Linked DNA regions of Homo sapiens: all the other regions are linked to region 1. Evidence: promoter capture Hi-C in 16 types of primary human blood cells and fetal thymus (Javierre and others, 2016). All regions are on one chromosome and are shown on one strand. Each heading gives the region's core, a stretch centred on a gene start or on the middle of the fragment in contact. The rest is flanking DNA. Distances are from core to core; before and after follow the strand shown.

Region 1 (4,670 bases), core at 1,464-3,963:
TAAACACTTTATTTCAGCAGCGGGACAAGCTCCTCTAGAAAGGTCATTTACCATGACCTGAGGTGTAAGAAAAAGCACTCTCTTACTGCACCATATTTCCTTCCTGGTGGAAGCTTGTGTAGACCCTGAAAATAAAAGTGACATTCTACATTCTAAACTTCAGACTGTTATCTATAAAATATAAATAGTCTGGCTTTTTCAGAATGCAAACATGCTTTGGTAACATTAAGAGAAAAACAATTTGACAATTCATCGGAATGCTACATTTTAAAGTTCTGGTGTGGTCCAAATATCAAAGCTGGCACTTATCTAGGACTACAACCAAATTGTCTTTAGAAAATTCCTACAAAATGGCATATTTGAAGAGAGGCAAATTCTTCAACTGAGAAATCTTTTTCAGGAAGAATGCCAGGAAATATCATGTTCAGTTACCCATGGGGTATACGCACATAATAGCTTCAAAATACTATGACAAGCTGCAGATATTCTCTGAAGATTGAATAAAGCAACCCTATTCATCAGTTTTGGGCTTGCTGCAAGTAGAGAATGTTTTAAGAGGGAGGGCGTAAGATGCACATGTTGTAGCTTGGGAACTATTCCACATGGGTCAGGAATTCCCAGCTCTTACTTCAAAATTAGTCCAGTCTAAGATACCTGTCATTTCGGCCATGTGGGATTGCGGGATACCCATCACCTGGTAGCAAGCCTCGATCTGCTGTGTCACCAAGGGTTTCGTTGGGGCCATGAAGACCACCTTTCCTGAAGGGAACCAGCGGTAGAAATTGTACATGACCACGGCGGCAATAAAGGTCTTTCCCAGTCCGGTAGGCAGACACACCAGCGTATTGCAAAACAGAGCAGCCCGGGAAATGTGCAGCTGGTAGTCCCGCACTGGGCAATTGGTAGGGTAAATCCACAGGGCGCCCGCGGAGGTGCAGAACCCGCCATTCTCTAGACACAACTGCCGCTCAGCCTCGTACGCCGCGACAAGCAACACATCATCGTCCGACTCCAGCTGAGCCTCCGCTGCTGCTGGCAAAGGCGCCTTGGAGCTGCCAGGGCTCTGAGGTCGCTCAGTTCCGGAGCTGCAACCCGGAGTCCCAGATGATCGGGAGATACTTGAGCCCCACGTCTGAAAAAGCGTTCTTTGCCGTCCGCTCATTAGGCCGACAACCACCGAAGGCTTCTGTCAGATATCCGTAGCAGCAGCAGCTCAACCGCTACGGTTCCGATCCCCATCGGTTTCCTTCGCACAAAACTCTGGAACGAGAAGGCGGGACTAAGGCCAGTTTATCCAGTTGAAAATGCCGCTACTGAGTTTCCGTTGGGAATGATTGGCTGGCTTCCCGGAAACCTTCACAGCCCTGCCGGAGACTCATGCGCATTATTAAGGCGTTACTCTAAATATGGTCCCCGGTGCGGTTCCGGTGTTTTGTTTTAACAAACTCTAAATTTAAGTTCCGTTTCCAATGATTAGATGGCTGGGCGTCATTGCTAACGTGATAAATCACTTAAAATGTTATAATAGAGATTTATTGTAAAATATTACATACCCGGGGACAATGGAATAGCCACCAGTTTGGGAACTTAATGTTATTGAGCGTCTAACGTGCCTCATTCCTTGTACTTTTAAATCAGAATATAAAGTGAAAAGCAAAAATGTGTAGATGGAATAATTTGTCTTATATCTCTATCTGGGCTGAGAAAACAAAATGCCAAGTCTCTTTTTCACCGCGCTGGGAGTGGCAACCCATTATTTTAATATTTTCATTGTTTAAAGGGAAGTGAACGTGGTCTGGTCCAGCTATTCGTCAGAATTTTTTTTTTTAATGCTCCTTGCAAAGCAGAGCTAACTCATAGGCAACATGCCCAGAGTCAGCCTACATTTTTTTAAGTAAGGAGTCCTGATGTTCAACTATTAAATCTTTATTATAGGTAAGAGCATTATAATAAACGTCGGTGTGCAATTATTCCACTCTAACGAAGATTTCTGTCTCAAATAATTCCTGACTTCTCTCTAAACCTGACTTTGAGTAACCTCTGTAAATTTGTTTCCTCGTGTACTGAGAAAAAAATATACATCACAGAGTTACGAGCATTAATAATGTCATTCTCATCAGCAAGTGGCATCCTGAGTGCGGCTTCTTTATAAATTGTTTTATTTGTTAAAGTTTCTGAACTTCGTTTTGGACAAACTTTCTCGTATTTGTATGGGGGGAAGGGGATGGGCAGTTTGTATTTAAGTTTCGGTTGTGTGATCTTTAAAAGGGAAATGGTGGGATATGGGTTTTCGGATCGACAAGGACTGAAGCACTTCAGGTGTGACTTTTTAGGCTAGAACTAGATAAAACGAGATAAGGAGCCTGAATGCTGTTTTCTTTTAACAGGTTATAGACTGGACTTTAAAGGCATAGCTGCCTTAAATGTGGGTAATGGTTGATAAATGTCGCTACCATCAGAGGTCGCTTCACAAGGTGTCTAATTCAGAATCGAAGATCTCTAGCGGTCTTCTACTCAGTCGACTGCAGAGACGACCGCGGTAGGTTTTTCAACCCGGACTCAACAAAGAAGCCCTCATAGCACAGCCTTGACGTCACTCAAAGACAGGCCCCAATCCCGACTGCTAGAGCAGAGGCCCGCCCCTCGACCTCCGTGAGTGGCCCCGCCCCGCCCTAGGGGGCGGGGCGATGCCGAACTGCGGCGGGCTGGCTCAGTAAAGCGGAGGCAGCGGGGGAAGATGGCGGCGGCCGTTCCACAGCGGGCGTGGACCGTGGAGCAGCTGCGCAGTGAGCAGCTGCCCAAGAAGGACATTATCAAGTTTCTGCAGGAACACGGTTCAGATTCGGTACCAGAGGCGTAGGGGCGGCCGGGCTGGTGCGGCTGAGGGACGCCTCACCCCCCTGGAGATGCCCATACATTCCGTATTCCTCTGTGCCCCCGCCCTCGTCTTCCCGCGGCCGGTGGCCTGGAAGGCCGGAGAGGCCCAGCTTGTGCTTTGGTGCCTCGCTCCCGCCTCTCGGGCGTTCTCTACTGGGGCAGGGGAGCAGCTTTATTTCTTGGGGCACACAGGCTGCAATTGTAGAGTTAGAACCTCATTGGGATCCTTGAGTGGGGGTGGAGGCCAGAAAAATAGGAACCCGAGGATATTGGGGGCTAGGGCGGAGAGGCCGAGGAATAGTGGTGTGGATGAGACTCCTGGGAGCGGGGCGCCGGCTACTAGGGAAATGGGAAGGGATGTGAAGATTTCTGTGGGAACGGTGTATCCAACTTGCTTTTCTCAACAGTTTACTAAATACTGAACATTAATGCGTGTGATTTTTAAAAAATCCGTAGGTTGTGGTTTAAGTTTTGATTTAACATATCGACCCTTTAAATGACCTTTTCACCTTTATACTTTAAGGGAGCTACATGCACATTTCTCTTGTGCAGTGGTCTGTCATTGTTATAAACAGACTAAGAAATTTATTTGAAATGCTTTATACTGTAGGCTCTCCATTTGTCAGCATAGTCTCCATCTTAACCATCCGTCTATAGTCAAGTTATTTTTGTTACACTTGTTTTTCCTTTGGAAAATAAGTTCATTCATGCACCTGTTAAATTGCTGAAATAGTTGTGCACGCAGCATTCTCTTACAAGCGGCAGCCTGCTTGTGTTTTCTATACAATTTTTAAAATTCTAAACTTTTCATTTAGAAAAACTGTTTCTGGGTTTTTTTGTTTGTTTGTTTGAGACGGAGTCTCTCTCTGTTGCCCAGGCTGGAGTGCAGTGGCGCGATCTCGGCTCACTGCAACCTCCGCCTCCCGGGTTCAAACGATTCTCCTGCCTCTGCCTCTCGAGTAGCTAGGACTACAGGCGCGTGCCACCACGCCAGGTTAATTTTTTGTATTTTTAATAGAGACGGGATTTCACCGTGTTAGTCAGGATGGTCTCGATCTCCTGACCTCGTGATCCGCCCGCCTCGGCCTCCCAAAGTGCTGGGATTACAGGCGTGAGCCACTATTTCTGGGTTATTTTGAGAAGCTTATATTTTATTTTCATTTTGGGCGGGCGTCATGACAGGGAGATAGAAGAACTCTCCAACTTCCAGTGCCTTCTTCCTTAATTATTATCCTGGCATCCGCATCTTAGATTAATTTAGCAGATATTAATACAACATCTGTAACAAGAACTATTCTCAGTGTTTGGAGGTACAAGGGTGAAAAAGAACATGTGTCGGGGATCTTACCCCATTTTAATGGAACTATTTTCTCTTAAGCCAATTCGTATTTCATCTGAAACAATAGAATAGACATCATTAACATTTAATAATACCTCAGTCATGTACTTCATCCATCATATTCTTATGAAACAAATCATGCCATGTGGAATCGTATGTAAAACTGGGCCACGTGGAAGAATTTCAACAGACTTGGATTATCAAAATGTTTTTATAACATTAATCTTTTAAATGCATAGTCTCGGTCGGTCGTGGTGGCTCATTCCTGTAATCCTAGCACTTTCGGAGGCCAAAGCGGGCGGATCACGAGGTCAGGAGATCGAGACCATCCTGACTAACAGTTGAGGCCAGGCATTGAGGACCAGCCTGGCCAACGTAGCGAAACCTCATTTCTACTAAAAATACAAAAAAAATTAGCTGGGCCTGGTGGTGGGCGCCTCTAATCCCAGCTGTT
Region 2 (4,670 bases), core at 1,337-3,836, 250 kb after region 1:
TCAACTAATTTTTGTATTTTTTTTGTAAAGATGGGTTTCGCCATGTTTACCAGACTCATCTCAGACTCCTGGACTCAAGTGATACACCTGCCTCGGCCTCCCTTCTCCCCATGCCTGGCCTATTTTTAGTTTTGTAATGATCCTCCAAACTGTTCTCCATAGTGGTTGTACTAATTTACATTCTCACCAACAATGTAAGAGGGTTCCCTTTTCTTCACATTCTTACCAGCATTTGTTATTGCCTGACTTTGCATAAAAGCCTTTTTAACTGGGGTGAGATGACATCTTACTGTAGTTTTGATTTGCATTTCTCTAATGATCAAAGATGTAGAGCACCTTTTTATATACTTGATTGCCATTTGTAAGTATTTTTTGAGAAATATCTAGTCAGGTCTTTTGCCCAGTTTTAAATCCGATTATTAGATTTTTTTCCTATAGAGTTGTTTGAGTTCCATATACTGGTTATTAATCCATTGTTAGATGAGTAGTTTGCATATATTTTCTCACACTCTGTAGGTTGTCTCTTCACTTTTTTGATTGTTTCTTTTGCTGTGCAGAAGCTTTTAAACTTGATGTGATCCCATTTGTCCATGTTTGGTTTGGTTGCCTGTGCTTGTGCTTACTCAACAAATATGCCCAGTCTGATGTCCTGGAGAGTTTCCCTAGTGTTTTCTGGTAGTAATTTCATAGTTTGAGGTCTCAGATTTAAGTCTTCAGTCCATTTCGATTTGATTTTTGTAGATGGTGAGAGATAGGGATCTAGTTTTATTCTTTTGCATGTGGATATCAAGTTCTCCCAGCACCATTTATTAAAGAGATTGTACTTTCTCCAGTGTACATTCTTGGCAGTTTTGTCAAAAAAGAGTTTATTGTAGCTGTATGGATTTATCTCTGGGATCTTTATTCTGTTCCACTGATCTATGTGTGTATTTTTATGACAGTACCGTGTTGTTTTGGTTACTATAGCTCTGTAGGATTATTTAAAGGCAGGTGATGTGATTCCTCCACTTTTTTTTTTTTTTTTTTTTTTTTGCTTACAATAGGTTTGTCTATTCTGAGTCTTTTGTGGTTCCATGTAAATTTTAGGATTGTTTATTCTATTTCTGTAAGGAAGGTCATTGGTATTTTGATAGAGATTACACTGAATCTGTAGATTGCTTCGAGTAATATGGACATTTTAACGATTTTGATTCTTCCAATACATGAACATGAAATATCTTTCCATTTTTTTGGTTTATTCTTCAATTTCTTGCATTAATGTCTTAATAGTTTTCATTGTATAAGCTTTTCACTTTTTTGTTTAATTCCTGGGTATTTATTTGTAGCTATTGTAAATGGGACAGCTTTCTTGATTTCTTTTTCAGATTGTTCAATGTTGGCATATAGAAATGCTTCTGCTGATTTTGTATGTTGATTTTATAACCTCCAACTACTGAATTTGTTTATCAGTTTTAATAATTTTTTTGTAAAGTCTTTGGTTTTTCTAAATATAAGATCATAGCATCTGCACGCAAGGATCATTTGAACTCTTGATTTGCAATTTGGATCCCCTTCATTTCTTTCTTTTCTGATTGCTCTAGGTAGGACTTCCAGTACTACGTTGAAAAAAAGTTGTGAAAGTGGGCATCCTTGTCATGTTCTTGATCTTAGAGGAAAGGCTTTCAGTTTTTCCCCATTGAGTATGATTCTAGCTATGGGTTTGTTACATATGGCTTTTATTTTGTTGAGGTATGTTCCTTCTATTTCCAATTTTTTTGAGGGTTTTTTTTTAATCTTGAAGGGATGTTGAATTTTATCAAATGCTTTTTCAGCATCAGTTGAAATGATCATATGGTTTTTGTCCTTCATTGTGTTGATATAATGTATCACATTAATTGATCTACATATGTTGAACTATCCTTGCATTCCTTGGCAAACTCTACTTGGCTGTAATGAATGACCTTTTTAATGTTTTGTCAATTTTGCTTTCCTAGTATTTTGTTGAGGATTTTTGCATCAATATTTATCAGTGATATTGGCATATAGTTTTCTTTTTTTTGATGTGGTGTTGTCTGGTTTTGGTAACGGGGTAATACTGGCCTCATAGAATGAGTTTGGAAGTAGTCTTTCCTCTTCTATTTTTCAGAATAGTTTGAGTACGATTAATATTAGTTCTTTAAATGTTAGGTAGAATTTAGCAGTGAAACTATAAAATCCAGGGCTTTTATTCACTGGGAGTCTTTTTATTATGGCTTTGATCTCATTACTTGTTAATGGTCTGTTCAGGTTTTAGATTTCTTCATAGTTAAGTCTTTGTAGGTTGTATGTGTCCAGGAATTTATCCATTTCTTCTAGCTTTTTCAGTTTTTGGCATATAATTGCTCATAGTAGCCACTTATGATCCTTTGAATTTTTGTGGTATTGGTTGTAATGTCTCCATTTTCATCTCTGATTTTATTTATTTGGGTCTTATCTCTTTTTTTATTGGTTAGTCTGTGTAAGGCTTTGTTGATTTTGTTTATTAAAAAAAAAAATAGGCCAGGAGCAGTGGCTCATGCCTGTAATCCCAGCACTTTGGGCGGCCAAGGTGGGTGGATCACCTGAGGTCAGGAATTTGATACCAGCCTGGCCAACATGGTGAAATCCCATCTGCACTAAACATACAAAAATTAGCTGGGTGTGGTGGTGCACACCTGTAGTCCCAGCTACTTGGGAGGCCAAGGCAGGAGAATCGCTTGAACCTGGGAGGTGGAGGTTGCAGTGAGCCGAGATCCTGCCACTGCACCCCAGCCTGGGCAACAGAGCAAGTCTCCATCTAAAAAAAAAAAAAAAAAAAAAAAAAATCAAATGACTTTTCATTGATTTTTGTACTGTTTTCTTCACTTCAAATTCATTAATTTCTGCTCATATCTTTATCATTTTTTTCTACTACTTGGTGTTTGCTTTCACTTTTCTAGGTTTTTAAGGTGCATCATTAGGTTGTTTATTGAAAAATTTTCTTCTTTTTTGACATAAGCACTTATAGCTATAAACTTCCCTCTTAGTACTGCTTTCTCTATATCCCACAGGTTTTGGCATGTTGTGTTTCCCTTATTTGTTTCAAGAAATTTTTCAGTTTCCTTCTTAATTTTTTCATTGACCCACTGGTAATTCAGAAACATATTGCTTACTTTCTGTGTGTTTGTATAGTTTCCAAAATTCCTCTGGTTATTGATTTCTAGTTTTATTCTATCATAGAGAAGATGCTTGCTGTTATTTCAATTTTTTGACGGTTTTAAGATGTGTTTTGTGTTGTAACGTATGGTCTATCTTTGAGAATTATCCATGTGCTGAGAAAAAGAATGTGTATTCTGTAGTCATTGGATGAAATGTTCTGTAAATATCTATTGGGTACATTTGTTCTAGAGTGCAAATTAAGTCCAATGTTTTTGTCTTGATTTTCTGTCTGGAAGATCTGTCCAGTGCTGAAAGTGGGGTGTTGAAGTCTCCAGCTAATACTGAATTTGAGTCTCTCTCTCTCTTTAGCTCTAATAATATTTGTTTTACATAGCTTGGTGCTCCAGTATTGGGTGCATGTATATTTAAAATTGTTATACCCTCTTGCTGAATTGACCCCTTTATCATTATATAGTGATCTTCTTTGTCTCTTTTTATAGTTTTATCTTGAAATCTATTTTGTTTGATATAAGTATAGTAACTCCTGCTCTTTTTTTGTTTTCCATTGGCATGGAGTACCTTTTTCTATCCATTTATTTTTTTAGTCTACATGTGTCTTTATAGGTGAAGTGTGTTTCTTGTAGGCAACAGATCAATGTTCTTATTTTTATATACAGTTAACCAGTCTATGTCTTTTTTTTTTTTTTTTTTTTTTTTTTTTGAGATGGAGTCTCACTCTGTCACCCAAGCTTAAGTGCAGTGGCATGATTTTGGCTCACTGCAACCTCCACTTCCTAGGTTCAAGCAATCCTCCCACCTCAGCCTCCTGAGTAGCTGAGACTATAGATGTATGCCACCACACCTGGCTAATTTTTATGTTTTTAGTAGAGATGGGGTTTCACCATGTTGGCCAGGCTGGTCTTGAACTCCTGACTTCAAGTGATCTGCCCACCTCAGCCTCCCAAAGTGCTGGGATTACATGCATGAGCCACCCAGCCCAGCCTCAGGCTATGTCTTTTGATTGGAGAGTTTACTTCATTTACATTCAATGTTATTATTAATAAGTAAGGTCTTACTCCTGCCATTTCATTATTTGTTTTCTGGTCTTTGCTTTCTTCTTTCCTTTTTTCTTGTCTTCCTTTTAGTGAAGGTGATTTTCTCTGGTGGTATGATTTAGTATCTTGCTTTTTATTTTTTGTGTATCTGTTGCATGATTTTTGATTTGAGGTTACCATGAGGCTTAAAAATACTATCTTATAAACCATTATTTTAAGTTGATAACAACTTAACAGTGTTTACATAAACAAGTGAAAAGAAAACTAATAAAAACTTGACACCTTAACTTCCTCCCCCTGCTGGGGTTTTTTTTTTTTTTTTTTTTTGAAATGGAGTTTTCACTCTTGTTGCCCAGGCTGGAGTGCAGTGGCACAGTCTCGGCTCGCTGCAATGTCCGCCTCCTGGGTTCAAGTGATTCTCCTGCCTCAGCCTCCTGAGTAGCTGGGATTACAGGTATGCAACAACACACCCAGCTGATT
Region 3 (4,670 bases), core at 1,298-3,797, 200 kb after region 1:
TTCCAGAGTAATTTATACAAGTTTACACTCTCACCAACGGAGTATGCATTTCTTGCTACACATTCTTGCCAACAATTATTATCTGACTTTATATTTTTTGCCACTTTGGAAGGTGTGTCATGGTTTATTGTGCTTTTAATTTTTGTGTCCCTGATTACTAATAAGATTAAACATATCTGTCTTTATGGGCCACTTTGGTTTTTAAATTTTATATTTTTTCTGCTTATTCTTTAGTGTGGAGATGTACTTTCCTCAGAATGACTCTTGGATTGGTTTGGCACCCCTAAACATTCCTCGCTATGAATTTGGAATATGCGTTTTAGACCAAAAAGTATATGTTATAGGTGGTATTGCAACTAATGTGCGTCCTGGCGTCACTATCAGAAAACATGAAAATTCAGTGGAATGCTGGAATCCTGATACAAATACTTGGACTTCTCTAGAGAGAATGAATGAAAGCCGAAGTACTCTTGGAGTAGTAGTACTTGCAGGAGAACTTTATGCCTTAGGTGGTTATGATGGACAATCTTATTTACAATCTGTAGAGAAGTACATTCCCAAAATAAGAAAATGGCAACCTGTGGCACCAATGACGACAACAAGAAGTTGTTTTGCTGCAGCGGTATTGGATGGAATGATATATGCCATTGGTGGGTATGGTCCTGCCCACATGAACAGGTATTTAACTTAATAATTAAATTGCATATGTTTATGGATTTTTAAAAGTCTCATTAGCAATGATTTCTGAGTTTTAAACAATTTGTGTGTATGAATGAACTTCCGGCATTTGGGAAACTTAATCTGCTCCATGGATATAATTGTAATTGTTTTACATGGGAATTTAATACAAACCTAACAATCAAATCCCTCTCATTAAATTTTACATTCATTCACTATAAATGGACTAGATTTTAAAACTCAGAAACCTAAAAATAAGATGAAGTTAGACAACTTTAGATTTTGTGTGGTGTGTACATCTATGTGCACAGTATGTAAATTATCTTTTATTGTATTGCTTAATAGAATAAAGAAGTAGAAATTTAATTCCTGTGTGTCTATACAATATTATAGCACATCATAAACTTAAAACCTTATTTAAATATTCCTTTCTGAATTCTTTCCTGTAATCATACATGTATCATCAGGTATTTGACTTGTGCTGGAGTTTGAATTTGTGATATCTGTATTCTGTAGTTTTATCTGAATAAAGGAGAAATATATATGAGAAAATAAAAGTATGAAGTAACTAGTTATATGAGAAATTAATCGTAATTCTGAACCTTTATTGAAAATTGATGTTCCAAAGGTTTTATCTTTGGCCAGGTGTGGTGGTTCACGCCTGTAATCCTAATACTTTGGGAGGCTGACGTGGGAGGATTGCTTGAGCCCAGGAGGTTGAGGCTGCAGTGAGCCTTGAATGCACTACTACACTCCAGCCTGAGCAACAGAGTGAGACCCTGTCTCAAAAAAAAAAAAAAAGAAAGAAAGAAAAGAAAAGATTGTATCTTTAATAGTAATTAGAGTGGTTTGTGTTATTTTGATTGTGAGTATTTTAATGACAGGGCATACAGTCAGCCCTCCATATCCACGGGTTCTACATCCACAGATCCATCCAACTGTGGATCAAAAATATTTGAAAAAATTTACAATAATAAAAAACAAAATAATACAGTATAACAGCTATTTGCATAGTATTATAAGTAATCTAGAGATGATTTAAAGTATACAAGAGGATACGTGTAGCTTATATGCAAATATTATACTGTTTTATATAAGGAACTTGAGCATCTGCAAATTTTGGTATCCTTGGGATGGGGTGGATCCTGGAACCAATCCTCTACAAATACTGAGGTTTGTTGACTGAGAAAGTGATGGCACAACAGCATTTCATCTGTAAATTTTTACTTCTATTGAAGCCAAAGTATTCCTCCTTTTATTTATTTATATTTTTTGCCCTTAGTTGAAGGAAAAATATGGGACATAGACATGCATTTCTATTCTTTGAAAAGCTTCTGCCCAAAATTTGTAAGATAAAAGGTTAAGTATTTTAAATTTGATTATCTTGAAAGTCTTGCTGCAGTGCATCAACTCTTCTTCAATGATTTTGGTCTAATGGATTCTATCCTGGAGTTCTTTCAGAAACATTACCCAGTCTCTATTATGAACTCCAGAATGGTGTCACAGCCTGTTAAATGCTTATGGTTTTTTCAGGAAATAGGTTAGGGCCAGAACAAGCCCAACAATCTTACCTCTGTGCCTTTGTGCACCTTCAGAGGAAACCATAGTCTTAAACAGCTGCTAGAATTTTCTAGGGAAGCCTTTTTGAAAATTCTGATTTAATTTGGATTCCATAATGCAGCTTAGAAATGCCACACGTTCTCTGAAACACAGTCTTGACTCAAATTCCTGAGTACTCCTAAATCACCCTGAGATAATTATGATCAGCCAGTTTGTACTATGCAATCTACAGTGATTGCTTTGCAGTAAGCCACATGAATTCTCCTGTGACGAAAAAAAATAAAGGTTTTTCTCCCCACCCCCCACCCCTCTCTTCCTCTTCTTTTCCCCTTAACTGTATAGAAGATCCTAAAAACCTCTGTATTCAAGCCAGGCATGGGGGCATGTACCTTTAGTCCTAGCTACTCAGGAGGCTGAGGCAGAAAGATCACTTTAGCCCCGGAATTTGAGGCTGCAGTGAGCTCTGATCTTGTCACTGCACTCCAGCCTAGGTGACAGAGCGAGACCTGCCTCAAAAATAAATAAATAAAATTTAGGAACAAAAAAAAAAAGTCTGTATTCAGTTAGTGGTTTTCAAAGTCACGTGCATACTCATTTGACTTTATTCTTATATGAATCCCTTCAGGTTGCACTATCCTCATTTTTGCAGGTGAGAGGAAATGACTTATTCAGGATTACACAAATCCACAGCAGTAGGGTTAAGGTTCGTTCAGCCCTAGGTATACAGAATTAGTACTTGAACCCAGGTCTTCTGACTCCAAGTTCTATGCTCTTAATATACTTTGCCGCTTGCACAATATAATGGAATAGCATATGGAATTGCACCTTGTTTACAAGGTAAGCTTTTATCTTTGCAATCTTATCAGCAAAACCTAAGCATTTGTGGCAGACTACTCTTGTTTAATATCTCTCTATTATGTGAACTTTTAAAGCTGTAGTGGGTTTTAGTTTTGCTTTGACAGGAAGAATGACACAAAAGATCTGTAAATTAAATTTTTTTTAAATATTTGCAGTGTGGAGCGTTATGATCCAAGTAAGGACTCCTGGGAGATGGTTGCATCCATGGCAGATAAAAGGATTCACTTTGGCGTGGGTGTCATGCTAGGCTTTATTTTTGTGGTGGGTGGACATAATGGAGTCTCACATTTGTCCAGCATTGAAAGATACGATCCTCATCAAAATCAGTGGACTGTGTGTAGACCAATGAAAGAACCTAGAACAGGTAATAAGAATTTATTAATTTCTAAACATGTAAGGCAATGTTTTCTATAATGATGTGCTTGCAATAATAGTTCCTTGGAATATAGCAGTAGGAATATTACTTGTCCAGAAAAAAAAAAAAAAAGACTTGTATGTGGTAAACTTGAAAGACAATTAGCTAGACAAAAGTATATAGATTTCTTTATTGTGACTTTTATATGCCAATGTGCATATTATTGTTTCTCAAACTTGCTGAATACATTTTGGGAAATGCTTATACTAGAGTGTGTATTTATAGAAGCTCCTTTTGTCCATGTAACAAATGTCATCTTTTCATATGTTACATACATACAATCCTCGGATTGTTCTGTTTTGTTTTCTATTGTATATCAGTAATCTGTATGTTCACTTTCAAATGTTCTTTCTTCCCCAGGGGGTATAGTTGATCAAAAAGGGTTGTATTTCAGAGTTCGTAGAAACAAAACAAATCCACTTTTGTGGTTTAGGAAAAATTGTTATCTTTGAACTCAAACTCATCACATCATTTTAAGGGAAAGGTTTTAAGATACTGACAGAAATGCTTTAGGGAGCACTCCTCATACAGATTGAATATTTCCTATCCAAAATGCTTAGGACCAGAAGTGTTTCAGGTTTTGGATTTGGGATTTTGGAATATTTGAATTATGCTTACCAGGTTGATCATGCCAAGTTCAAAAATCTAAAGTGTGAAATGCTTAAGTGAACACTTTCTTTGAGCATCATATGGTGCTCAAAAAGTTTCAGATGTTGGGCCAGGCACGGTGTGGCTCACACCTGTAATCCTAGCACTTTGGGAGGCCGAAGTGGGAGGATCACTTGAGGTCAGGAGTTCAAGACCAGCCTGGGCAACATGTTGAAACCCCATCTCTACTAAAAATGAAAAATTAGCCTGGTGCGGTGGCACATGCCTGTAGTGTCAGCTACTCGGGAGGCTGAGGCATGAGAATCGCTAGAACCGAGATCGCGCCACTGCACTCTAGCCTGGGAGACAGAGCAAGACTCCATCTCAAAAAAAAAAGTTTCAAATGTTGGAGCACTTTGGATTTCATATTTTTTGGGTATTGGATGTTCAACCTATATTTATGATTAAAGAACCTTTTGAAACAAACATGCAAGAGAAACTGAAAAGACAAGCTGAAATGAACTGTTTTAGTGTTTACTATAATTTGTTTCTTTTGTATCCTTGAGAGGGA
Region 4 (4,670 bases), core at 915-3,414, 190 kb after region 1:
AATGTCTTACTTACTAGTTGGAATGGTCAGAAAATATTTAAAAGGTTTTAACAACATAGATCTAGGAAAGTGAGATAAAGCAGTATTATAGGGGCATAAGTATAGGGGAACAACTTTGTCATGGTACTCTGGTCACCTTGCATGTATCCATGTAGGCAAAGACTTGGACCTCAGGACTGCAGCTTATCCGTGGCTTGACACACCTTGTGATTCTCCTGGAATATGAGAGAGTGAGAGGCCTCTAAGGAGCTGCTATGAGGTCATCTCCCAATTTTCCACTCACCTCTCTATTTCCCCTACAAGTGTGTCATGAGACAGTTTCTCTTCACTTCCCTGGTTGTGATTAGGTGTTAGACTTTTGACCCCATCCCACACCCTTAGAATAGAGCTACAGAATAGAAAACTGCTTAGCCATAGTTTTCATGGGGCCAGCCCCTTTTTTGTGTTACCATTTTTGATGTGCGGGACAAGGATCCAGGCAGTTTACTCTTTGGCTAATCTTCTTTTCAATCTGTAAGTAATAAACTATCTAAATCTAATAAGCCATCTATATTTTAAAATGGCTCATATGTCTCTTTACTGATAGAATTAGTGAGGCTTTGGCCTGGCTTTGGTAGGTATTTGTTCCCTGGACAGTAAGCAAACTTCCTTCCTTTTTTGGTATGCATGGAAAGGCATTTCATGGATATAGTTGGCAATAACCAAGCTTTTTAAAGGTTGATGAACAGTAAAAATAAATAACGTCTACCAATTACTGAGTGCTTATGTACCAGCACATAGAAAGGCATATTTACAACTGCTTTTTATACAATTTTGTCTATTTTTTTACAAATGAGAAAACTGAAACTTTTGACTGAATTTCCCAAGGTCACATAATACAGACCATTGTATTGTAACCCGGGAAGCCTGGTACCAAAGCCCAGTCTCTTAAAACTATACTGCATATCATACAAATATATGCATGTGTGTATATTTATGTGTTGTGTGTGTACATACATGTATGTGTGTATTTACAGACCTATGTTGTGTCATTTTTGCGTGTCATATGTTGATGGTGTACCAGTTTTGAATTGGGTACACAAAAATTAGGTTAACAATATAGGATCTATCACTATGTGATTCCTAATTATATTAAAAATGAATCTAGTCAATACTTCATAACCTTGATTTGAGAATCAACAATTCTGTGATACTTGTGTTGCCCAGGGTATCAGAGAAGACAGAGTGGGTTTCTTATCTAATAGTGAGAGGTAGTGCAACATAGAAAGTTGACTACTTCTCAAGGGACAACTCGAAGAATTTACTAGTAATAACTCATATTTATTAAGAGCCTACTAAGTGATAGGCCCTATTCTGAGCCCTTTTTATGTATAAACTCGTTTAATCCTCAAAACAACCCTATATTATAATTATTATTCCTGTTGTTGTTGAGTAACCTTCATTCCTTGGTTTTTCATGTGATAACTCAGACCTCCTTTTTTCCCAGACTCAGTACCTCTGTTCCATTACCTGTAAGACATGATTTGAATTTCTGCTGTTCATCAGGTGTTACAGTCTGTTTAGATCCCTGTCAAAGGATGATACCCAAAATCTGTAGTACAGATATGGACTGACATTTGCAGAGCAAAGCAAAAATTTCTCCTCTGTAGTTCTGTATATTATAGTTCTGTTAATGCAGCTTAAACCCACATAAGTTTATGGTGTTAAAATAGTACTGCAATTAAAATCCCTAAACCTGTTAAACACGTTCTACAGATGCGTCTTTTCTCTCTTATTCTATACTTGGGTAGTTGGTTTGGAATCTGCTATAGAATTTTTACATTTATCCCTTTTAAATTTCTTCTTGTTAGATATAAGTCTTTCAGGATCCTTATTGTGTTAGTCAATGCTTTTGCTGTCCTTTGCAGCTTCATGTCATCTTCAAAGTTCAGGACATAAAATATCTTCATCTTGGCCTTACAGAATACCACTAGAAGCATCCCTCTAGGCCTCATTCCATTAAGTGGTATACTCTGGGGGGTATTTGTTCCACTAGTTGCTGATTTAGCTAACTGAACTAGCTTATATATTTTTTTAGTTTTGTTCTTTGAAAAATCATGAAGGGCATTATAAAATTATTTACTAATATCTAGTTAAATATCAAGTCTACTTTTCTGATCTACAAGTCTTCTAAATAAATTTTTAAAAAGAAACAAACCTAGTCTGTAACATGTCTTATTATTTTTAGCTCATATATCCTAATCCTAAAGATCTCTACATCTTCTTATCGGTATTCACAAGTCAAATCTTTAATAATTTGTTTTAGAATGTTATCTGAAATTAACAGAAATCTTACCATATTGTAGAATTTACTGTCTTATTTTTGAAAATAGTCTTCAGTCCTGTGGCACTGGTAATGATTCAATAATCTCATTTGCAGGCTCTTTTAAATATCTTGAAACATAATTGTTTAGTCTGAGAGAGAGATGAATTTACAAAGTGACTAGGTCTCCTTTTTCAATCCCTTCTCTTATTTTTCGCATACATTTTCCTTTTCTGTTGTTCATCCTTCACTTTTTAGTCTACCATTCTCCTTGTTAAATCAGAAAATGAGAGTTGAAAGGGGTATGTTTTACAGAGCAACACGTATAATTGAATTAATTGCATGTAAAGGGATATAGTAAATAAATGCTTATAGACGTCCAGGTAAAGTTAATTTTTGATCTTGAGTTTTGAGAATTTGAATTGGAGGAAAGGAAGATCAGAGGAGAAAGGTTATAGACAAAATCTAACGTGTGGTAAGAAAATATTTGGGAGATAGCAAGTTTTATATAGAGCTATAGTCATTACATGAGCATCATAAGAGTAAAAGGTCATTGTGGGAAAGAATGGGAATTAGTGAAAGTGGGGATATTGGGAAGTGGCAATTTAGTACAGTGAGACGTAAGTACTATATTCTTAACACCTCAAGCTGTATATTTTGTAGAACTTTATACTTTAGAGAATCACTTTCAGGTAAACTTCTGAGATAAGTGGGGTATTCTTATTTTATGAATGAAACAATTAATACTTAGATTAAGAAAGGCTGGTACCTATTATTCCACCTAATAATATAATTTAAGATTCAGATGGGACTAAAACTCATTACCTTATATTTCCAAAGTCTGTGTTCTTCACTGATATGTTTTATCTCTATCGCCTCACTGCTACCATAGTACTACTGTAGTACAATATCACTTACAGTTTATCATGTTTTTATGTACATTGTCTGATTTGATCCTCAAAAACCTCAGCTACATTAATACCTGAATAATAAAGTACAGGTATTATTATGATCTCATTCTGCAAATAAGGAAAACAAAGATTGAGAAGGTAAAGTTAACGAGGACTGCTTTCTTAACCCCATTACCTATTTTTTCTATCTACTTGCCTTTCCTGTTATTCATTCTTTACTTTTAAGTCTAGATTTTAACTTTTTCATAAAACTGAGGCTAAAAGAAGTTACATAGGTTAAAAAGATCAACACTGGAATAACTAACAGAACGTGTACAGATCTAAACTTATGCCTTCTGATTGCCATCTACTTACTAGTATATATTATGTTCTGGAAAAAAAGTACCTACTGGAAGACCCAGAAGCTTCTTGGGACTTGTTTATACCATGACTGCAATAACATTTGAGAATTTTTCTAGTAGATAGGTGTGAGATTATTTGCAGAGATCAGCAGTGGAGGCTGTTACCAGCTGGAAAGTGGCCATATTAACATAATTTATTAACTGACTTAAAATTCATTGTGAAATAAGTATGAAACAATTACGTACTTGACAAAGATAAAAATTTCAAGAGTTGGATTTTTTCCACTTAAAAATGTATAAGAATGAAGTGCTATACTCTCTCAATAGTGTTCAAAATGTTTGAATTTATAGAATTGATGGTTTTAAGATGGAAACCAAATGTACTTTTTCGTTATTGCCATAACTTGTGATTGAAATGTGAGTGAGACAGGAAGGAAATAGCTTATATTGTATACATGACCTGTATTCCTTTTGTCTACTCTAAGCAGCTGCTACAATCCATTCTGAAATATCCATGTATTAATTCTTAAGGTTACTGTAACAAATTACACAAACTCAGTTGCTTAAAACAAAACAAATGTATTCTCTCACAGTTTTGGAGGCCAGAAGTCTGAAATTTGTGTCAGTGGGCTAAAATTAAGGTGGCAGGACCATGCTCCTTCCATAAGCTCTACGGGAGAATCTGTTCTTGGCTCTTCTAGCTTCTGGTGACTGCCAGCATTCCTTGGTTTGTGGCTGCAGCACTCTAGTCTCTGCCTCTTTAGTCACATGACCTCCTCTTCTGTCTGTGTCACGTCTCCTTCTGCCTTCTTATAAGGTACATGTTGATTGCATTTTGGGCCCACTTGGATAATCCAGGATCTTGTCCCCATCTCAAAATTGTTAATCCTTTCCAAAGTCCCTTTTTGCCATATAAAGTAATATTCACAGATTCCAGGGATAGGGATGTGAATGTCATTTGGGGAGCCATTATTCTGCCTACCATAGTCTTTATTGTCTCTCCACTTTCTTTTCTTTCTCATCCCTTTTCTTCCCTGCTATTTTTATTCTTTTTCATCTTCCAGAAGCACAAAGTGGCAAGTAGATTGAGTGGGCATGATCTGAATTAATGATCAA
Region 5 (4,670 bases), core at 641-3,140, 150 kb before region 1:
TCATCCCAGCTCAGAGGGTGTGGCTAACACCTGCACGCCTCTACCAGAGAGCAACGCAACCCCTAAAAAAAAATTCTTAAATGTTTATCCCCTGAATACTTTATATTTGAATTATAACATAGATGAATATAATATTTTGTCCAAGAATGTGGTGGACACCTCTATTTCTTCCAGTGCTAAATGTTTCTGTAAAAAGTCTGACACAAGCTTGAATTTCCCCTTGTTAAGTAACTTGCTTTTTCTACTTGATGTCTGAAGAATTCTTTTTTGTTGTTAAAATCTTGATGCTTGGTAACATACAGGGCACTTCTCAATGTTGGTAATTCAGTATCAATTTTTCCTATTAGACGTGTGTGCTTTATTATGAAAGAGATTTTCCACTATTATATCTCTGAATACTTTTTCTCACCATCTGTTGTCTACTTCAGAGATGCCTATTGTTTTGTCAGTCATCCATGTCTACAGCCTCTTCCTAATTGCCTTCATCTCCATCTTGCTTCTCATTCACTGTAACTTATGCCTTTTTTCCATCACATTAATTTAAATTTTAACTATGTCTCTTCTGCTTTTTATTCTTTTAATATATTTATTAGATTTAAAATTCTGCTTTACATCTGAGTTTCCTTGACCTTGCACTTCCCTTTTAATTTCATTCTGTTGTTTTATATTCTTGTCTTTTAAACTTTCATTTCACTGAATTTCTATTTGTGAAAAATTCTTCTACAGCAAGAGACATTAACAAGGAAACAGTTTCTGTTACAGAAATTATTATTTTTCTTTTCCTTTTTTTTTTTTTTGTTGACAAGGCTGGAGTACAGTGGCGCGATCTCAGCTCACTGCAACCTCTGCCTCCTGGGTTCAAGGGATTCTCCTGCCTCAGCCTCCCAAGTAGCTGGGATTACAGGCACCCACCACAATGCCCGTCTAATTTTTTGTATTTTTAGTAGAGACAGGGTTTCATCATGTTGGCCAGGCTGGTCTCAAACTCCTGACCTCAGGTGATCCACCCGCCTCAGCCTCCCAAAGTGCTGGGATTCTGGGATTACAGGCATGAGCCACCACACCCAGCTTTCTTTTTTCTTTTTTCCTTTTTTTTTTTTTTTTTTGTTTAGGCAGGGTCCCACTATGTCACCCAGGCTGAAGTCTAGTAGCATGATCGCAGCTCACTGTAGCCTCCAACTCCTGGGCTCAAGTGATCCTCCTACCTCAGCCTCCCGAGTAGCTGGAACTACAGGCATGCACCACCACCTCCAGCTAATTTTTGTACTTTTTGGTACAGATGGGGTTTTGCAATGTTGTCCAGACTGATCTCAAACCCCTGAGCTCAAGGTATCCTCCCACCTCGACCTCCCAATGTGCTGAGATCACAGGCATAAGCCACTGCGCCCGGCCAGAAATTATGATTTCTTATAGATGATTTCATCATTTCTCTTTCACATGTATGTTTCTCTCAGTCTCTCTCTGACTCTGTCTCTTTACATTTGTCTTTTTCTGTAGTATTTTTGCAGAGTTTTATGCCATTTCCTTTCATCTTGCATATGCTTATATAGGCAACACTGTACAGACATTATTTGCTCTAATATAGTGTGTTTTGCAATCATTTTTACTTGTTTATACACAGTCTTTCATAAAGGTCATGCCAGAAGATTTAACTCTGCTAATGTCTGTAAGAAGAAAATAAAAAATAATCCTTTTAAACATGACACAGTGCTACACATATTACACTGATTTACTGTAATTTATTTATGGTGGGCACTAAGATGTAGTGGTTAGGAGAGCCGGCTCTGGGACAAACTGTGTAGGTTTAAACCTGTATATCTTGGACTACTAAATCATTTAATCTATCTAAGCCTCAGTTTCCCAGTCTCTAAATTGGGACTAATAAGAACACCCAATCTCATTGTTAGGGGGAACAAATGAAACAAAGCATGAAAAACACGTAGGAGGCACTTCATATTTGTTAAATTAATAAATGAATACATATTCTCCAAATAAAACTTTTAAACATTACAATATATTTTCAGTTTCAGTTTGAATAGCTTGATTCTAAATTTGGCTAAATTTATGAATCAGTGCCTTTATTAGTTTTTGATACAAGTGCAGCTGTCTCATGCAAAGATGTACGTTTTAAACAGCAGCAATATTTTTGCTTGATGCCATTGAGAAATTCAAAGAGGCGGCTTGCCATCTAGTGGAAACCTGTTAAATTCCAATGCTTCTTCTGAGTCTGGCAAATTCATAGATTAAGGTAAATTGTTCATTTTAATATGTTCTAGAGAAACTTCCTTTATATACCTTGTTTGTGCACATTTATAGGAGGGAAATGCCCTGTGGTAGAACAAAATAATAATACTACTAACAGTAATAATAATCAACTTGAACTGTCCTCTGATCGAATGGGATTGGCTTTACAAGATAACATATATTTCATAGCATTCTCAAGTCAGACTTGAAACAAAATTCCAGAAATTAATTAGCAAGAGAAAAGGCATACTTGTTTAAGAGATGTCAGAATTTCTTTCACAGTGCTCATGTAGAAAGGCCATGAATGGCCGGGCACGGTGGCTCATACCTGTAATCCCAGCACTTTGGGAGGCCGAGGTGGGCAGATCACGAGGTCATGAGATCAAGACCACCCTGGCCAATATGGTGAAACCCCGTCTCCACTAAAAATACAAAAATTAGCTGGGCGTGGTGGCGCATGCCTGTAGACCCGGCTACTCGGGAGGCTGAGGCAGGAGAATCACTTGAACCCAAGAGGTGGAGGTTGCAGTGGGCCAAGATCGCGCCACTGCACTCCAGCCTGGCAACAGAGTGAGACTCCGTCTCAAAAAAAATAAAAGAAAGAAAAAAAAGAAAGGCCACGAATATAAATGGCCTCATGCTCCCAGGTCTGTTTCTGATTTTAAGGCCCAATTTCTTTGTTTCCATGAGTAACTTCCTTTTCTTCTCCCTACATTTATCTTTTTTTTTAATATAAAAGCCTGATCAGAAACTTCCAACCTATTTCGTCCTCCTAAAGCATTTCCTTTTACTATCAAAAGATATCCTAAACAATGTTCTTTTTTCTTAACAGATTGGCAGGTTTAATAAGTATTTCTGGGTTAAATATTATTCCTTTAATCACCACAGAGCTAAAACCCTGAAGTAGCCAAGTCTTATGAAACTACCCCATATCTCAAGAAACAAATTACACTGGCAGGGTCGTGAGCTGTGGCAATGATGTACAATTCTTGGGTCAAAAAGGTAACCAATCTACATGTTGAGTAAGGTCCTCTCTCTAAAAAGGTTCAAACTTGACAAAGTTATGGATGATAATTCTTAAAAGAGGTAAGTAAGTGGATTCCATAAAATTATTTGAGAGGTTAATGGTTTTAAAATATAATGAAGCAAGAGCTATGGTTAGGAGGGAAAAAAATGTATTGGTGAGACCAGGGAGAGAAACACATTTGGGCAAAGCATGTATTAGACGATGGTTCTAAGAACCTTCTGTCTTTTCAAAGCAACTTTTGAGTAGGGCTATTTTTGACTTTCATCTACATACTGAGCTGATCCATCCATAAACCAAGCTTGAGTTTTTTTCTTTGTGCTTTGGGTAGAATCCTCCATAGAACCACAGGCATGAGATGAATGAAAGGGCACTGTTAAAACAGTGATAGGTGCCATGGGGGTCTGTAATACCTACTCGTGAAGCTTGTTTGAGCCATCTGGTTATGATTATACTTGCTCCTAAATGTACCAACTCCATCTTGCAATGTACTGTTGCTTGGGCTATCTGACCTTTCTATTTGGTAAGTCTGATAGGACCCAGCTCATGATGGGAATTTATATAATATATACATGGTTACTTGATACTCCATGGTCAGGCATCCTGTCTCCACCAGGGTTCAGGAGCACATCAAAAGGTATATCATTCTCTACCAAAAATGGCATTGCCTTGCTCCAAAAACCAAGGGACTAACATTATAATTTGCCCACTGGGACTTGCAACAAACTCCACATAGAATCTTGTCTTATCACTTACACCTTTATGATCATAAATTCTGCTAAATTGTATGACCCAAGTGACAGGGCTGCTTGCACCCCAGCCTGGATCTGTTGCTATTTCCTACTCCTGATCTGATTTAAAGTTGGCAGCATTTTATGTCATCCAGTATGTTGGCTGGAGAAGTATCCCTAGGTGTAGAAATGTGCTGCCTCCAGAACTCAGAGGCCCATCAGGGATTGTGCTTCTTTTTTAATGTAGGAGATACGAGATGCAATAATTTGTCTTTTATGTTAGAGGATATATACAGGCACAGCCCTGATCAATAAACCCCTAAAGTATTTACAGATGTAGCAAGCACTTATATCTTCATAGGGTTTGTCTCTCACACACTACAGCATATCCTGCCATTGCCTCCACTGTGCTAGCCCTCTCCTGCAAATCCAACTCAATCAAAATAATGTCATCAAAGTAATTGATCAGTGTAATGCCAAATGTCAAGAGGGTCCAGATCTCTTCAAACTGTATTATGACAGAGGACAAGAGGACTAAAAACAGCCCTGGGACAAACCTATAAACAAATATTATTGTCCATTCCATATGAATATAAACTGTTTCTTATTCTCTTATCTAATTGGAAAAGAACACATTTTCTGACCTTATCCTTAGCCCAGTGAGACTGATT
Region 6 (4,670 bases), core at 1,309-3,808, 140 kb after region 1:
GCCAGGCATGGTGGCATGTGCCTGTCGTCCCAACTAATCGGGAGGCTGAGGTAGGAGGATTACTTGAACCTGAAAGGTAGAGGCTGCAGTGGGCTGATATTGTGCCACTGCACTCCAGCCTGAGTGACTGACTGAGACCCTGTCTCAAAAAAAAGAATGCCCTCAGCTGGGCATGATGGCTCATGCCTATAATCCCAGCACTTTGAGAGGCCAAGGTGGGTGGGTCACTTGAGGTCAAGAGTTCAAGACCAGCCTGGCTAACATGGTGAAACCCCATCCATAGTAAAAATACAAAAATTAGCCAGGCATGGTAGCCTACACCTGTAGTCCTAGCTACTCGGGAGGCTGAGACAGAGGCTGAGGCAGGAGAACTGCTTGAACCCAGGAGACAGAGGTTGCGGTGAGCCAAGATCATGCCACTGCACTCCAGGCTGGGCAACAGAGTGAGACTCTGCCTCAAAAAAAACAGAAGAATGCCGTAATAAAAAAGGATTGACTTTACTGTCTCAAAACCCAGTTAACGTCCATGATTGATTATACAGTAGTCAGTATCAAAAGGATATAATGGAATAAAAACAAAACCAATTATAGTCAACTTCTGATTAGATATATTAAAAGATGATGTATTAATACAGCTAACATAGTGAGTAATCCAGAAATAATTCTACAGTATGGAATACATTTTATGTTAGATTTACTTTGTGATTAATTTCTGTTTAGCAAACAGATATTAGTATATAGGCCAGATACATACAACAACTGGTGGAGGTGGTAATGTTGATGAGGGTGGTGGTGTGTGCATATGTGAATGTGGCATTTTCAGAAATCTTCAGCAGTCAGGCAGAGATTAAGTTTTGCTATAGAAGATTGTGCATCTGAAAGCAGACTATAGGACATACCAATTAACATGAAAGTCCTCTTTAGGTCTCTCTTAAAAGTAAAAGATTTTCATTAGGGTAAGTTTTGATGGGACGAAACAATGAACGAAGAAAAAGTGGTTTAGAGTAAAAGAAAATAGAATTCATAAATTTTGAAAGAGTTGTGAGTTAACGTTACAAAATGTGAAGCAGTCTATTTAAAGCACCTGATTGATGACTCTCAGGAACATGGAACTGAATTTTCAACCTTTGCAGTTAATACCTAAAAATTTATTTAATTCCTTAGAGTTATAGTAAATTAAAACATTATAAAAAAGCAAGTTTCACATTTAATATTAATAATGGTTGGAAATTTACATAGTGTTATTTACTGTTTCAATCTTTTTTTGTTTTTGTTTTTGTTTTTGTTTTTGTTTTTGAGACAGGTTCTCACTCTGTTGCTCAGGCTGGAATGCAGTGGCATGATCATGGCTCACTGCAGCCGACCTTCCCCATCTCAGGTGATTTTCCCACCTCAGCCTCCCAAGTAGCTGGGACTATAGGCATGTGCCACCACACCCAGCTAATTTTATTTTTATTTTATTTATCTTTATTTTATTTTACTTTATTTTTTTATTTTTTGCCATGTTACCCAGGCTGAGCTCGAACCGTCAAGCTCAAATGATCTGCCTACCTTGGCCTCTCAAAGTGCTGAGATTACAGGCGTGAGCCACTACACACAGCCTATTATCTCTTAGTCTTTCTATTTGAATCCCTGCATATTTTTCATAAAAAGATTGCAAAAATTAGGCCGGGCATGGTGGCTCACGCCTGTAATCCCAGCACTTTGGGAGGCCCAGGCAGGCAGATCACGAGGTCAGGAGATCGAGACCATCCTGGCTAACACGGTGAAAACCCGTCTCTACTAAAAAATACAAAAATTAGTCGGGCGTGGTGGCAGGCGCCTGTAGTCCCAGCTACTCGGGAGGCTGAGACAGGAGAATGGCGTGAAGCCAGGAGGCGGAGCTTGCAGTGAGCCAGGATCGCGCCACTGCACTCCAGCCTGGGAGGCAGAGGGAGACTCATCTCAAAAAAAAAAAAAAAAAAAAAAAAAGATTACAAAAATTTACTCTTGTTTAATCCTCTGACCTAATGCATCCTATTGCAGCTTTTGGCAGGGAGTATTAAAGCATCTCAAAAATAGTTTTAATTCTATTTTGGTAGCAAAAAATTACCAGAAAAAGACCTTTTAATATCTAATTCTCTCAGAAATCACCTATACTCCTGGCTTTACTGAACTTGTACTAAACTTTATCTTGACCTCCAGTTTTTGAACCTTTCACCTTTTACCAGTTCTTTCTGGTTTCACCCAGACTCCACCCTTGCCCCTTAATGCTGGGCATTAAACAAGTTTATTCCCATTAACCACAGTTACCTTCTGTAAACATCACTGTATTTGTCTTTCAAATTATTTTCCTATGTACACTTTAGAAAAAATAGCTGTGATACTATATGTAAACTTTATATCCTGATTTTTGCACTTTACATTATAATAAAAGTACTTCCCATGCTGTTAAAACCCCTTATAAGTGCTATACTTTTTGGTGTTTTTTTTTTGGTTTGGTTTTTTTTTTTTTTTTTTTTTTTTTTTTTAACAGACAGGGTCTCACTATGTTCTCTTGGCTGGCCTAGAACTCATGGGCTCAAGGGTTTTGCCACTTCAGCTACCAAAGTATCTGGGACTATAGGATCACACCACCATGCCTGGCTATAAACTTTAATTACAAAAATAATAATTGCTTATTGTAAAAAATATAAAAAATACCAAAGTTATCAAAAGAAAAATTAAATTTAAAAAATGCAAACTATAGAAATAAGATATAAACTTAAATTATTCTTTGGGACCCTTCTCAGTAGAATCCTACTGATAAATCCTGTTAACAGGTCTTTTTCTATATGTAAACATTCTTCAATAAGCTATTTTAAAAAAAAAACAAAAATAAATCACATGATACTCTGGCACAGAGTAAATATGTAGACATCCTTCCATGTAAGACAATACATATCTGTTTATTTTAGACTCATAGTTCCTTACTGATGGACATTTTCTTTGCCACGACTTTTCACTATTACAATCTTGCAGTGAACATTGTTACACACATATCTTTGTGTATTATATTCCTATAGTATAAAAGTCCTAAAAACGGAACTATTGAGTCCAAGGACATAAATTATCTTTAATGGCTGCCTAATATTCCATTGACTAGATGTGCCACTCTCCTTTGATGGAACATTCAGATTGCTCCCCAGGCTTTTCTCAGATTGATAAGGAAAAAATTCCAATGAGGGAAATGGTACCTACATGGCTTAAGGTAGCAGTGCTGACAGAAGGAGACTGGCAGACTTTAGAAAGACTGTCACATATGCTACATAGCTAAAATAAAAAAAAAACAAAAACAAAAAACTAAGGCTGAGTGCAGTGGCTCATGCTTTTAATCTCAGCACTTTGAGAGGTGGAGGTGGGAGGATTATTTGAGCTCAGGAGTTTGAGACCAGCCTGGGCAACATGGCAAGACCCCATCTCTACAAAAAATAAAAAATTAACCAGGCCTGGTGTTGCATTCCGGTAGTCCCAGTAACTTAGGAGGCTGAGGTGGGAGGATCACTTGAGCCTGGGGGTCGAGGCTGCAGTGAGCCATAACTGTGCCACAGCACTCTAGCTTGGAAGACAGAGTGAGACCTTGTCTCCAAAAAAAAAAAAAAAAAAAAAAAGCCTCAGCTGGGTGTAGTGGCTCACACCTGTAATCCCTGCATTTTGGGAGGCTGAGGTGGGAGGGTCACTTGAGCCCAAGTCCAAGACCGACCTGGGCAACACAGTAAGACCCCATCTCAAAAACAAAAGAAAAAAACCCAAAGTGTTTTTTTTAAAATATCTGTAAACTGCCTACACAAAGGGAGAATACCCACACTGAACTCTCTGTAGCCGTCAGCTAACCACACCCATAAAATGTGCAAACAAAATACAGACTATTTAGCTATTTTGTGTGCAGTTTGTTTTCATACATGCTAAAAGTAAGGTAATCAGCTGAATCAAGGAAGAACCAGGACTGATCAAAGAGAGGAAAAAATATTGCAAACTGCATGCAAAATAACTAGTGTGTGAAATAACCAACTAAATGTCTCTGATTCTTTGTTTGACATTTATTTCTGTAGATTTCACTAATATATTGTCCCTCTGAGTCCAAACAGGAGAGTTAAACATGTGGCCTGAAAGTGCATCCTTTCTGAGACCTAGAGTCTTGAGTTCTCAGTTAAACTTTCCTCATATAAGTGACTGAGCAATGTGGCTCATGTGCCACAATATAATACACAAAGATATGTGTGCAACTATATTCTTGGCAAAGGCTGATTCTGACTGAGCACATGGACAATTGTGTTCACACAGACGGCAGCAGTGGGTGAAACTGGGTTTTGATTTTACGGTCTATTTGGTGATTTCTGCTGGATGATAGTATAGTCAGGTGGCACCTGGCAGGGAATCTAGAATCTGCTTTCCTTATTGTCTTTTCATTTATGTTTATGATATGGTTAAACTTTGTGTCCCTACCCAAATCTTGTCTTGAATTGTAATCCTCATAATCCCCACATATCAAGGGAGAGACTTGGTGGGAGGTGACTGGATCATGGGGACCATGTCCCCCATGCTGTTCTCATGATAGTGAATTCTCATGAGGCCTGATGGTCTTACAAGTGTCTGACAGTTCCTCTTTCACATATTCGCTCTCTCTCACCTGCTGCCATGTAAGATGTGCC

The links. The method cuts DNA at HindIII sites, captures the fragments that hold promoters and counts their contacts. A CHiCAGO score of 5 or more calls a contact.
Region 2: a fragment that was not itself captured here is called in contact with the fragment with the promoter of FKBP3 in region 1 in 3 of 17 cell types (non-activated CD4 T cells, total B cells and total CD8 T cells); the score reaches 7.9 in non-activated CD4 T cells.
Region 3: a fragment that was not itself captured here is called in contact with the fragment with the promoter of FKBP3 in region 1 in 17 of 17 cell types (non-activated CD4 T cells, activated CD4 T cells, naive CD8 T cells and 14 more); the score reaches 30.0 in non-activated CD4 T cells.
Region 4: a contact is called between a fragment that was not itself captured here and the fragment with the promoter of FKBP3 in region 1, in 14 of 17 cell types (activated CD4 T cells, non-activated CD4 T cells, naive CD8 T cells and 11 more). The highest score is 19.8, in activated CD4 T cells.
Region 5: a contact is called between a fragment that was not itself captured here and the fragment with the promoter of FKBP3 in region 1, in 3 of 17 cell types (monocytes, M2 macrophages and naive CD4 T cells). The highest score is 8.2, in monocytes.
Region 6: a contact is called between a fragment that was not itself captured here and the fragment with the promoter of FKBP3 in region 1, in 11 of 17 cell types (activated CD4 T cells, fetal thymus, non-activated CD4 T cells and 8 more). The highest score is 11.0, in activated CD4 T cells.

What each region holds. Positions count from the first base shown.
Region 1 is chr14:45,132,524-45,137,193 of GRCh38, reverse strand. It overlaps FKBP3 (FKBP prolyl isomerase 3), which reads left to right and starts at 2,713. Exons shown (of 7, transcript NM_002013.4): 1 at 2,713-2,845. The coding sequence starts at 2,738. It overlaps FANCM (FA complementation group M), which reads right to left and starts at 1,264. Exons shown (of 23, transcript NM_020937.4): 1 at 655-1,264; 2 at 1-125. The coding sequence starts at 1,162. RefSeq lists enhancers at 1,061-1,110, 1,773-2,643, 2,737-2,956, 2,644-3,515 and a silencer at 2,590-2,767. The HindIII fragment of the contact is 3,907 bases long and covers 116-4,022 here.
Region 2 is chr14:44,879,750-44,884,419 of GRCh38, reverse strand. No RefSeq gene overlaps it. Among named protein-coding and RNA genes, the nearest start is that of DORIP1, 15 kb to the left of the region's middle. The HindIII fragment of the contact is 2,600 bases long and covers 1,287-3,886 here.
Region 3 is chr14:44,930,123-44,934,792 of GRCh38, reverse strand. It overlaps KLHL28 (kelch like family member 28), which reads left to right. Exons shown (of 5, transcript NM_017658.5): 3 at 235-678; 4 at 3,252-3,460. Among named protein-coding and RNA genes, the nearest start is that of KLHL28, 29 kb to the left of the region's middle. The HindIII fragment of the contact is 1,071 bases long and covers 2,012-3,082 here.
Region 4 is chr14:44,946,863-44,951,532 of GRCh38, reverse strand. All of the region lies in intron 1 of KLHL28 (kelch like family member 28), which reads left to right. Among named protein-coding and RNA genes, the nearest start is that of KLHL28, 13 kb to the left of the region's middle. The HindIII fragment of the contact is 2,911 bases long and covers 709-3,619 here.
Region 5 is chr14:45,285,326-45,289,995 of GRCh38, reverse strand. It overlaps the pseudogene DNAJC19P9. Among named protein-coding and RNA genes, the nearest start is that of MIS18BP1, 34 kb to the right of the region's middle. The HindIII fragment of the contact is 3,362 bases long and covers 210-3,571 here.
Region 6 is chr14:44,989,913-44,994,582 of GRCh38, reverse strand. All of the region lies in intron 1 of TOGARAM1 (TOG array regulator of axonemal microtubules 1), which reads right to left. Among named protein-coding and RNA genes, the nearest start is that of TOGARAM1, 30 kb to the right of the region's middle. RefSeq lists an enhancer at 4,598-4,670. The HindIII fragment of the contact is 7,515 bases long and covers 1-4,670 here.